2 separate regions of the Homo sapiens genome follow, and region 2 is linked to region 1. Evidence: promoter capture Hi-C in 16 types of primary human blood cells and fetal thymus (Javierre and others, 2016). All regions are on one chromosome and are shown on one strand. The core of a region is centred on a gene start or on the middle of the fragment in contact, and the rest is flanking DNA. Distances in the headings are between cores, read along the strand shown. Region 1 holds the start of PSD2 (pleckstrin and Sec7 domain containing 2). Region 2 overlaps NRG2 (neuregulin 2).

Region 1 (5,676 bases), core at 1,503-4,002:
TCTTGCCTCCGGAGTAGCTGGGATTACAGGTGTGCATCACCACACCCGGCTAATTTTTGTATTTTTAGTAGAGAGGGGGGTTTCACTGTGTTGGCCAGGCTGGTCTCGAGCTCTTGACCTCAAGTGATCCAACCCACTTTGGCCTCCCAAAGTGTTGGGATTACAGGCGTGAGCCACCATTCCCAGCCTGACCCTGCTGTCTTTCAGGAGGCGAAGGTAGCCACAAGGAACAGTAACAATACTCCCCTCTCCAGTGTCCATGGCACCCAGAACACTCACACAGAGCTCACCTGTGGCCTCCAGGCAGCCCTCTGAGCCCTAGGGAGCTAGTTCCACTTGACGGAGGGGAAAGGAAGGTTCAGGAAAGGGTACAGCTGCCCATAGCCACACAGCTAGGAAGTGTGGGTTGGGGGGACTGGACTAGAACCCGGGTCTCCTTGCCCCTGCCACAGGCTCCCAGAGCTACAAAGGACAGGGGGCAGATCCAGGGGGCAGAGACTAGGTTCTGTGTGCCAGCCCAGCGCAAGTTAGCTGGAGAGACAGCTATGTCTACCTTTCCCCTTTCCCTGTTCTTTCCTTCCACATAATTTATTAAGCCATGCTGAGTGTTAGGTGCTGAGGATACACTGTGAACCCTTTCAAGGGGCTCAGAGTCCATCCAGTGGACAACAATTAAATAGTGCATTCCATGAGTAAGTAATCATTACAGCTGGAACAGCCATGGCCCATTGAGTGCATCTGTGTGCCAGGTCTTGAGCACATCAGCTCTTTCGGTCCCCATCCTAGCCTCACAAAGAGGGGGACTGCTACCATCCTCATTGGGCAGATGAGGAAGTAGGAGCCCAGAAAGGTGGTCCAGCTGTGACTTGAGGGCATGGGTGCCAAGGGTGGGGAATGTGGTATCTAAGCCCTGCCATGAGCACTTCCCTCCACAGCCCCTGCTGGTCGCCACCCTTCTCTGCCTACAGGTAGCAGAGGGCAGGGGGGTAGAATGCAGGACAGCAGGGAAGCCAAGCTCCCTCTGTGCCCTTTAAGATCCTGGGCACCTGCACAGAGAGTGGCTCCCTTGTTTCTGGGCTCTGCGGTAATGTCCTAGGGTTTGATGGGCAGTGAAGGATGTGGTCTGAGTGCCCTCTTAATTGACCAGCTGTGCTCACAGATTCAGATCTCCTGGGATCATGAGCAAGTGACTTATGCTCTCCAAGTCTCAGTTTTCTCATCTGTAAAACGGGTTGTAGGATTGTTTTGAGAATTAAATATGACACATGAAGAGCACTTGGTAGATGCTTGGTTGTCAGAGGTGTCACCATGGTTGATGAAGTCCCAGCTCCTGCTGTTGCCCAGCTTGAAGGGAGGGAGACTACGCACAGCTCAGATTCCACACCTCCAATTACTGCCACCCTAAGAGGTCAGCAAATCCTCTTCCTGCTCCCTAAGAAGAGTCCATGTTTGTGTGTTCATGGGTGGAAAGAAGGTCAGAGAAGACTTCATGAAGGAAGGGGCATTTAAGGAGGAATTTGAGGGTTCAGTAGGAGTTCACTGAGCACAGCAGGATCAAGGCCCCACCGGGCAGAGTGTGGATCATCTGCTGAGGTCTGGAGATGGAAGCAACTGGGTGTGGTGAACCCCCCAGGGGCTGGAGTAGGGGAGAGGGGTAGAAAGTGGCCTCCAGTGGCAGGGCCTGACTCTATCCTGATTTCCCTTCTCCCAGGCACTGGGCCTGCTCCCCACGCCCTCCTTAGATCCCTGTGGGTGGGGGCCCTTTAATGCCTCTCTGAGAGGCGGACTCTTACTCTGCAGGTGCCTCACAGCCAGGAAGTTCTTAATGTCTAGCCCAGGTACAGCCAGTCAACCCTCTTCTTCAGTTAGAGTCCTGGGCTGAGGGGGGCGGCTTCAGGGCCTTGACTTGCCCTTGGGGAGACACCGTGGGACAGGTGCCTTGGGAGATGGTTTCCTCTGCCCAGGGCACCCTCTGTCTCTCTCTGTCTCCTTATATCTGCCCAGGGAGGCTTCCCCTTGACCTGGCACAGGGATGTGGATTCTTGGTTGGACCCACCCCTCACCTCCCGCCTCCCTCAGGTTCTTTCTCCTTTGTCTCTTTCTCCTCTCTCCTGCCTCCTCCCATCCCACTCTGTCCCGAGGCTCCTTCTCACCCCACAGCCCAGGTCTCCGTCCCGTCCCGTGTGACTCTAGGTCTCAGGGGCTCAGTCTCCCTCTCTGAGATTCTTCACCTTGGCCCCCCGCACTCCCTGCTCCTCCCTTGGCGGCGTCTCCCGGGGGCTGGCGTGTGTGTCGGGGGGCTGGGGGCAGGGGTCACTCCCTGAACAGACCGCGGGAGGAGGGCCAGGACCCGCCCCCTCCTTCACCTCCAGGGCCTGGCGGGTCCCGAGAGCTCAGGTTCTAGACCGGTGGGTCCTGCCTGGAGGGCGGAGGTGGTTGGGTCTGCCCGAGGGTTCGAGGACGGCAGGGGCCCAGCGTGGCTAGGAGGGGGCAGAACCCCGGGCGCTCCCCTCCCCCCCTTTCTTAAAGGGCCCGCGCGGGGCAGAGGGGGACAAGGTGGGCCGCGCTCTCCCCGGCACGCTCGGGGTCCCGGGGCGAGCGCTGCGCTGCAAGCGGACAGGGCTGGGGGCCGCGCTTCCCTCCGGGCTCCGCGCCCGCCGCTCGCGCGCCCGCAGTGCCCCCGCCCTTCCCCGCCCTTCCCGCTCCTCCCTCCTCCTCCTCCTCCAGCTCACGGCTCCGCTCCCTCCCTCCTGCCGTCCGTCCCCCTCGCTCAGCCTCTCCACATCGCGGCTCCGGCACCTGAAGGGACGCGGGCGGGCGCGGGCAGCTCCGACCGGCGGCGGCGGGGCGGGACAGGCAGCCCGGCGGCCTCCGATGGCCCCGCCGTGAGAGGCCGGACCCGCGGCGGGGACCAGCAGCGGTGAGTGGGGCCGCGGGGCTCCGGGACCCGCCCCTCCCCGCTGGCGGCCAGGCCGGGGCGGGACGGGCCGGGGAGAGGGCCGCGTGCGGGTGGGGGGCGTCGCCCTCGCCCTCGGTGCCCACCCGGGTCCGCTAACAAAGCTACATTTCCAGATCAATTCCGCGGCGTCTGGAGCATCCGAAGGATACGGTTGTCATGGAGATGGGGCCGAGAGAGGAAGCCCGGGCTGGCCGGGTCTGGGCCGGGGAGAGGGGGCGCCGCGGGAAAGCCCGAGCCCAGCCTGAGGGACGGTGGGGGCTGCCGGGCCGATTGTCTCCCGGCTCCGCCACCCACTACCCTCTCCCCGCTTTTGTATAATCTGGGGGTACGCGTGTGCGTGGGGGGTGCCAGTGGCAGCCTGGTGGTCGGGGATCGGGGCATTGGGTACCGGGGCCTGCCGGCAGCCACCTTCACGAGGCTGCAGCTTTGAGGATTTATTTCTGTTTCCAGTTTCCCAACTTTGACAGCCCTGCTTGGCGGCCAGGCCTCCCCGGCTCTGCAGCTAGAGCGGGGGCTCGCACGGGGGCGTGGCAGTCAGGGCTGAGGAGGCACATAATGGCCGAGGCGGCAGCGGGAGGGAGGGGTCCCAGGAGCGGGCTGCTGGGGCTGGGTGCAGAGGGAGTCCAGACTGGGGACAACCCTGCCCAGCGGGCCCCCTCGGAGGAGGAGGTATTCAGCTGTTCCTAGAGGATGCAGGGACTCCCCGGAATGATCACTGGGGGCATTGTTTTTGCATAGGCCCAGGGGGCCACTGTCTCAAGCCCACCCCTTTGTCTTGGGGCCATCTTGGGGGGGCCAGGAAGAGAACAGGGAGCAGAAGCAGCAGTCACAATGGAAGAGGGCCTAAGACTCCTGGCAGCCTGGGGATAAGCCAGGCTGAATTTGATGGGGATCAGCGAGAGGGCTCAGGATTTGGCCAGGGCAGGTGGGCAGCCTGGGTTTGGACTTTCCTGGGTTCCCCAGTTCCTTTTTCTAGATCCTACAAACAAGAGCTGCTTAATAGTGGTTGGGGGTGGGGGGGTTCACTGGGCTGGGACTGCCTCCAAACCCAACCCGTGGCCCAGGGCAGTTGCAGTCGTTCTTTCATTCTTCCACCCTCTCCCCAGGACTTTAGGAACCTGTCTCCCAGGGAAGCTACAAGTTCTGGGGCCTGGGATCTCCGAATCAGTAAAATGTGCCTGCTGTCCTCCCAGCAGCCCCTTTCCCCAATATATGCGGGAAGCAGGGAACAGGGGCTTTTGAGTGGGGCTACTGCAAAGTTTGGTCCTGGTGGAAACATAGCAGGTCCCTAGGGTTTGGCCAGAGCCCCCAAAAGATTCCCACGCAGTGGGGTGAGTAGGTGGGTGTGGCCCAGCTAAAGGAGGATGACTGGGTTGTCCTTGGAAGGCCTCCCTCACTGGTGCCTCTTGCAAGGTTGAAGTCTCAATGCTTGGGTGAATTGCACCCTGCAGCCCAGGGATGCCCCCAGAGGCCTCCCCGCTGCAGCTTGTCCTGGTCTGACAACTATGGGGTGCACGCTCCACAAGCAGACCTGACAAATAGTGCCTCCCAGGGTCTTCCCTGAAGGGAGAGAGCAAAGATAGCTGGAAGGAATGACTTCCTGCTCTAGACAGGACTGAGAGAGAGAGTGTGGCTGGGGGGTATTACCTCACCTAGCTTCCACATATGGAGCATATGTGCTAAGTACCCTCATAACAGTCTTTAGAGGGAGGCACTACCCTTATTCCCATTTTGTGGTAGAGCTGTTTGTTCAAAGTCTCCTGGTTAGTAAGTGGCAGAGTGAGGATTTGCACTTGGCCAGAACTGTCTGATACTCAGACCTGTGTCCCCATCCTCTCCTCTTCTTCCCTGGAGACACAATTTAGGAGAGAGGTGGGAGGTGGGATAGAGTGTCTCTCCATCTGGGCAAGAGGGTGACCTTGGGAAAAACAAGCACTAAGCTGTAGTTTCCTAGGGAGGTGGGATCAAGGCATTCCCATTCCGGACGTTGGCTTGCAGGAGATCAACACTGCCTCTCACAACAGACGATGCTCTAGACCTCCTTTGCCAGATGGTCTTTTCCAGGAAAATCTGTTTTGAGCGGCATCTTATGTCTGAGGCTCCGTATTTAGACTGGCTCTCCAAACAGGAGGATACACTTAGGCTGTCGCCCCTTGAGGGGTGTTTGGGGGAGTTGGGTGGGCTTGGGGCCAGACCTGGCTCCTTGCCACAGCTCAATGGAGGGGGAGGGGCCCATGTTCCTGCCCTGGTCTCCCTGGGACCAGCTTGTTTTCCTTGTCCCTCTAAGCCGGCTTGCCCACAGGTGAGTCCGTTTCCTCAGGGTCTGGCCCCCTTTTCAGGTGGTAAGCCACTCCAGCGCTGTGCCTGCCTGGCCTGGGCTGGCCTGTGGGCTGGCCCACAGCTCTGCATGCTCAGGTTTGTGGACTGCCCTGGGGAAGGAATGTCCTCTCCTCTGACTCCTGCCCCAAAATTCCAACCCCTGAGCTCCCCTCTTTGGAACGTCTCCCTCCACTCCCTTCCTTCTCCCACCTTACTTTTTATCTTGTCAAAGCTGATAGTATAGTGAACACCCACCTACATACCCTTCACCTAGAGACCTAGATTTGCCAGTTGTTAACATTTTGCCACATTTGTTTCTCTCTCTCTCTCTTTCTCTCTCTCTCTCAATCTTTTGAAAGTAAGTTGCCAACATTATAACACTTCACCTCTAAATACTT
Region 2 (5,676 bases), core at 1,422-3,921, 54 kb after region 1:
ATACACTGTCGAGTGGCTCTTCTCGGTCCCAGCGTGACCATGCATCCAATCTAAAGAATCTGAAATGCAAAGGACATGCAGGTGTAAAATAGAAAAGACGACCTGTAAACGAAGGTGCTGCAGAGGACGGAGGGGCGTCCTGGAGGCTGTGGGGGACAGGAGCCGCCAACATTGGGCCCCTGGCAGAGCTGCCACCTCCCTGGGCTCAGGCTCTTGGGGAAACGTTTCTCTGCCCCCCCTCCTTTAACAGCTGTGAGTAGCCAGGGCTTCCCCATTCGGGTAGCTGTGTCTTTATCTCCCCCTGGAAGTTACCCCAGCTCCAGCTCCAAGCCTAGGGTCCTGGCCCTCTCCTCCCAGGGGTCGGGAACTTCAGCTCTTGCCTGGGAGCAAAGCTACTTCCGTCCTCAGTTCTTCCTTAGGGCCAACCCCCCACCGCCCCCCACCCTCGCCCCCAACAGAACCCGCACCTCTTCTCTCCCAGCTGTCACTCTCAGCACCCCACAACCCAGACCTGTCCCCCGGAGCCCCAGATGAGCATACAGCAAAAGGCACCACAAAATAGGTTTCTATTAAAGAGTCAAAAAATTGGCCCATCTCTCTTTTTTTTTTGTTGTTTCTTTTTTTTTTCCGAAGCTGTAAATCAGGATGTTACATATAAATAGTTTCCCTATAAAAACGCCTTTGCCGTTAGCTAGTATTATAAGACAATTTTTGCTAAAATGAAAATAAAACATTTTGTTATACTTTTTTCCTTTTATAGAAAATAAAAATATTTTTATTTCTTTTTTCCTCCTTTCTCTCCAGTAGGCGGTCTCTGGTCTCCTTAAAGATAGTGGGGCGGGCGGGGCGGAGGGGCGCGCGGCGGGGCCCTAGAGTGGCGCCGAGTCCTGCTTGGCCCGCGGGGGCGGCCCGCGGCTGTGTCTGCTGCTGGCCCGCGTGCTGTGGCTGTCCAGTGAGTAGTAAGTCCTGCTGTCGGCCGCCGGGCACAGTGGCGGCGAGTCCGAGCGCAGCGCGTCGTGCGCCCCACGCAGGCCCAGGAAAGGTGTGCTCTCGGCCGCCAGCGCCCCGTCCGCGTCGTCCGCGTCGTCGTCCGACGCCGAGGCTGAGCCGCCGCCCGAGCCGCTGCTCAGCGACAGCGAGTCCCTCGCCGCCCGTGCGCGCTGCGCCGCCAGCCCGTTGAGGCGCGAGCGGCGCCAGCGCCGGGGCCCCGCCGACGTCCTGCGGGACGCACCGCGCGCGCGCGGCCGCGGCGGCGGCGGGGGCGCGCACTCCTGCGTGGTCTCGTACTCGTCGTCCTCGGGGATGCGGAAGGGGCTGGCAGGCAGGCTGCCCAGGCTGCCGCCGAGCGCGCAGGTCCCGCGCCGCGGTCCGGGCCCCGCCGCGGGGTAATAGTAGCTGTCATAGCTGCGCTGCATGTCTGCGCCGGGCCCGGGCCCGGGCCCGGGTCCGGGTCCCGGGCCGGGGGGCGCCGGGTGCCGCAGTAACGGCTGCTGCTCGGCCAGGCGGTAACTGATGGGCGCCGCCGGCGGCAGCGACACGGCGTGCGCCGAGTTGGGGGACGTGATCTCGAAAGTTGGCACCTGCGTGGCCAGCGAGTAGTGGAAGTCCACGGGCGAGAGGCGCGCGGGCGTGGTCAGGGCCGACACGTACCTGCGGGGAGAGGCAGAGGCATGGGCCAGGGCCAGGCCGGGCCGGCGCGGGGGAGGGGGGGTTGGGGGTGGGGTAGGGTGGGAGGGGCGGACCCAGACTTGCCTTAACCTTGCCCGAGACCCCGCCTGCAAGAATGACGGCAGCAACCCTCAGTGGCCTTATGCAATTTCCTAAACCTCTCCGAGCCTCGGTTTCCTTATCTGTTACGCGGGCATAACCATGGTGTTGATTCCATAGCTCTGTTGGGATGATTCCAGATTGTATCAGTGGGATGTGTTAGCCCTGTGCCTGACCCTGGTAAGCTTTCATGAATGGTCACTTGCTGTGGGAATGCTCACCGTCAGGGGGTCAGGCTCACGCTGGGGTACATGTTCCATCTGGTTTAATACCGCAGCTCTGTAAGACCCTTCCGCCAGTCCCATTCTACACGCAGGAAAGTAACACTCAGAACGTTTAATTCTACACGCAGGAAAGTAACACTCAGAACGTTTAAGTGACTTATTCAGGATTTACACAGCCAAGAAGTGGCAGAGCTGGGATGTGACTTGAGGCTAGTCAGGAACCAGGACTCATACTGCCCAATTCCAGAAGCCATTAGTCTCCATTCAGATACCCCTGTGACCTGGCCTCACTGCCCCACAGGGACAATTCCTCCCATGCCCTGATGGCTTCAGTGAGGGAAATATTCCTCCTTACAGTGAAGTCAAAACCTGCTTCAGGGGAGTACCAAGATCCCATGAGGTGTCTCTGCTTGTGGCTACAGACCCATCCCCACACCACCAGCTCCTTCAGAAGTCTGGCCTTGCTAATATCTCCCAGGCTGGATCCCGGGTACCTGTCCCCTTTTGTGCTCCACATCCCCCTTGTAAGCCCATCAGTCTTCTGCCCCACCGTTGTCACCTCAGGACAGGGGCCACCCACCTCCACGCTTCCCTTCCAAACTGCACAGCTGGGCATCTCACTGCTCTCTGGAACCAGCCTGGAGTCCCCATTATCATTTTTTCTGAATCGCCTGACTCCTCCCTCTTCCCTTTCCCACCGGCACATCTGATTAACCACCAAGTCCTACCCATTCCCTTCTCCGGAAGCACACTCTCCACCCCATCCTGGGCCCGACTGTTCACATGTGGTCATCTGGGTCCACCCCAGGGTCTCTCCTCCTTCACTCTATGCAGTTCCCAGAGCAATCTTGTAAAGTCACAGCTCTGCTGAAGCCGGTCTTCCTGTTTACCCACCCAGGGTCAGTCTGTCTGGCCTCAGCTTGCCTGTTCAGGCCCAGCTCCTCTGCTCCCTACAGCCCACTCTGTTCCAGGCACCTCACTCATCAGCCCTGTTCTTAAGTGCCTCTGTTGGAACAGCTCAAGTTGTTCCCCGTGCCTAGAATGCTTTTCTTCCTGCTCTCCTGCCTCTCCCCTTCCTACCACCCATTAAGGAGTCTCATTGCTGTGGTTACGATTCATAAATAGCTACACCTAGTGAGCATCAGCTCCATGCCAGGGATGAGACAAAGAGCTCTGTGCACATGATCTCAGGTGGCCTTCACTTGAACCATGCATAGTAGCTTTTGTTCTCCCTGTTCTACAGCTGAGGGAACAAGGTACAGAGGTGATCAGTCTGCCCCAAATCACACAGGTGGTGGAGCTGGGCTTAGAAAATCTGGCTACTTCCCAGAGCCTACAGTCAGACTGGGTCTCTCTGCCCTGGTGTGGTGTCATGTTTAGCACCTTCCATAGGCTGCTGTAAGCTTCCTTGGTTTGTTTCTGTGGCTAGGAGCTCCTCAGGAGCAGGAACCTGGCAGGCCACTTCTGGATTCCCAGCCAGGCCTGCCCAGCACAGGGCCTGGCATGGAGTAGGCTGAGTTGAGAGCAAGGGAATATCTGCTCCTCTCCCTGCTCCCTGGTGTGGAGTTTTTAGTACCACTCATCTTTCCCTGCTCACCTCCTACAGACCCCACTTGCTGAGGGCCACTCAGGGCTGAGCAAGGTGGCAGGGGTGCTGGCCCTTGACTTCTGGCTTGGAGTCAGGGAAGAAAGGGCGTTTCCTGGTTCTTACTACATCCACTGCTTAGGAAGCCAACAAGGCCTTGAACCCTGGGGTCTTGTTGCTGCTACTGCCAAGGCCTGCCATCATTCTTGGCTCACGTCCATCTTGTGCTGGTCAGTGTCCTCAAAGGCAACCTCCCCTCCCACTCTGCAGTTTACTCCTTCTTCGTGTCTCCTTCTGTTCCTGCTGGGACATGGAACTTCTAGCATGTATCCTGGTTTGTCCAGAACAGCCCCTGTTTGTTCTTTTTTTTTTTTTCTTTTTGTAAAGGGAGTCTTGCTCTGTTGCTGAGGTTGGAGTGCAGTGGCGCCATCTCAGCTCACTGCAACCTCCGCCTCCCAGGTGAAGGGATGCTCTTGCCTCAGCCTCCCAAGTAGCTGTGATTACAGGCATGTGCCACCATGCCTGGCTAATTTTTGTATTTTTAGTAAAGATGGGGGTTTCACCATGTTGGCCAGACTAGTCTCAAACTCCTGACCTCAGGTGATCCATCCGCCTTGGCCTCCCAAGTGCTGGGATTACAGGTGTGAGCCACCGCGCCCGGCTGCCTGTTTGTTCTTGATGTTCCAGTGTAACTATTAATAATGTCCTTTTTCTAGTGTGAAAAGTGTCCTGGGAGGACAATTAAATTAGATGGTCACTGTCCACCAGGGTCCACTGGCCCAACTCTAGTCCCAGTCTGTCATTAACATGCCGATGGCTCTGAGCAGGCCATTTCACCTTTTCTAGGACCTTGTTTTCCCATATGAAAAATGGAGATGAGGCTCTTTGGAGTGTTTCTGAGGGGCCCTAAGGGTCAGCCTTGGGCCAGTGGTGCCAGCCCTCTGGCTAAGCGGGGAATAGGTCAGGGGGTAGGAACTGACCTCTCGCTGTGTGGGGAGTCGCGAAGGGAGTCCACGGAATCGTGATAGGGTGGCGCGGTGGCCCTGCGCCGCTCCTCCAGGTTGTAGGCTGCTGCCCGCCTTGCCCGGGCCTCCACACATGCTGGGCTGTTGCATTTGCTGGTACCCACTGATGATAGCATGATCCCCGACTGGGAGTCAGAAGTCAGGCTCTCAGAACGTTCCAGGCTCCACGTGTGGCTCTCGTGTCTGGGAAGGCCAGATGGGGTGAGACGAGGGGTCAGGAAGGGGCAGGGCGGCCCAGCAGGTGTGGTCCCATGGACCTCCCTGGCTCTTCTTCCACCTCGAGCTCCCTTAGCTCAATGCCCTTCTCCACTCTGGGGTGATGTGTATTGTTGCAAATGCCCAACCCCAATATTGGAAGAAGGAGGGCTGGGGTCCCATAGATGGGTGAGCTGTAATGTGCAGAGACCCATTTCTTTCCTTCCTGCAACCAGCCTCCCCCCAGCCTTACCTTAGACCCCCTGTCTGGGACCTTTCCACCACCGTGGTCCTTAGCTACCTATCTCAGAAGCCCAGCCCCAGGGGCCAGTATGTGAGGGCCCTGACTATTTCCTGGTGCTCCCGAGGGAAGAAGGGAGCCAGCCATGTTATTTTTGAGTTGTCTGAGCCTTTGTGCTGTGTGGACTGGCCTCTGCAGTTCTGGAGAGGAGGCTAAGGTGTGCTGTGATTCCTGTGGCAAGCTCAGGGGAGGGTATTGAATAGCTCTGGATGTCGGAGTAAGTGGGCACTTTGCGCCAGATGAAGTATGTGAGTCTACAAGTTTCCATGGGCCTTGGTGGTGCCTACCTGTGGCTGGAGGTGGGTGTGGCTGTGGAGCAGTGGTGAGAAGGAGAACAGGAGTGGCTCCCAGAGAAGGTGGTCTCAGTTTCTCTCCTGATGACATGGTCTGTGGCTGGCACGTTCTTGGAAATATACTGGAACAGACAGAGTTGGGCGAGAGTTAGTGACTGGGGCCCAAATGAACTCTTTCTTGTTGGGGACAGGGAAGTGATGAGCACTGACTGAGCTCCTGGTTGGGGAGACCCACTGTGTGAGAGTGACTTGATGTTGGGGCAGCGATGGCTCCAGCAAATCAACC

What was found. Contacts are between HindIII fragments. The CHiCAGO score rates a contact against its expected background, and 5 or more counts as called.
Region 2: a fragment that was not itself captured here is called in contact with the fragment with the promoter of PSD2 in region 1 in 1 of 17 cell types (M0 macrophages); the score reaches 5.3 in M0 macrophages.

The regions. Positions count from the first base shown.
Region 1 is chr5:139,793,056-139,798,731 of GRCh38, forward strand. It overlaps PSD2 (pleckstrin and Sec7 domain containing 2), which reads left to right and starts at 2,753. Exons shown (of 15, transcript NM_032289.4): 1 at 2,753-2,920. RefSeq lists a silencer at 2,272-2,471. The HindIII fragment of the contact is 8,840 bases long and covers 1-5,676 here.
Region 2 is chr5:139,847,048-139,852,723 of GRCh38, forward strand. NRG2 (neuregulin 2) reads right to left here. Exons shown (of 10, transcript NM_004883.3): 8 at 5,385-5,512; 9 at 4,557-4,784; 10 at 1-1,650. The coding sequence ends at 870. Among named protein-coding and RNA genes, the nearest start is that of PSD2, 54 kb to the left of the region's middle. RefSeq lists silencers at 882-1,071, 1,202-1,621, 1,672-1,731. The HindIII fragment of the contact is 1,442 bases long and covers 1,951-3,392 here.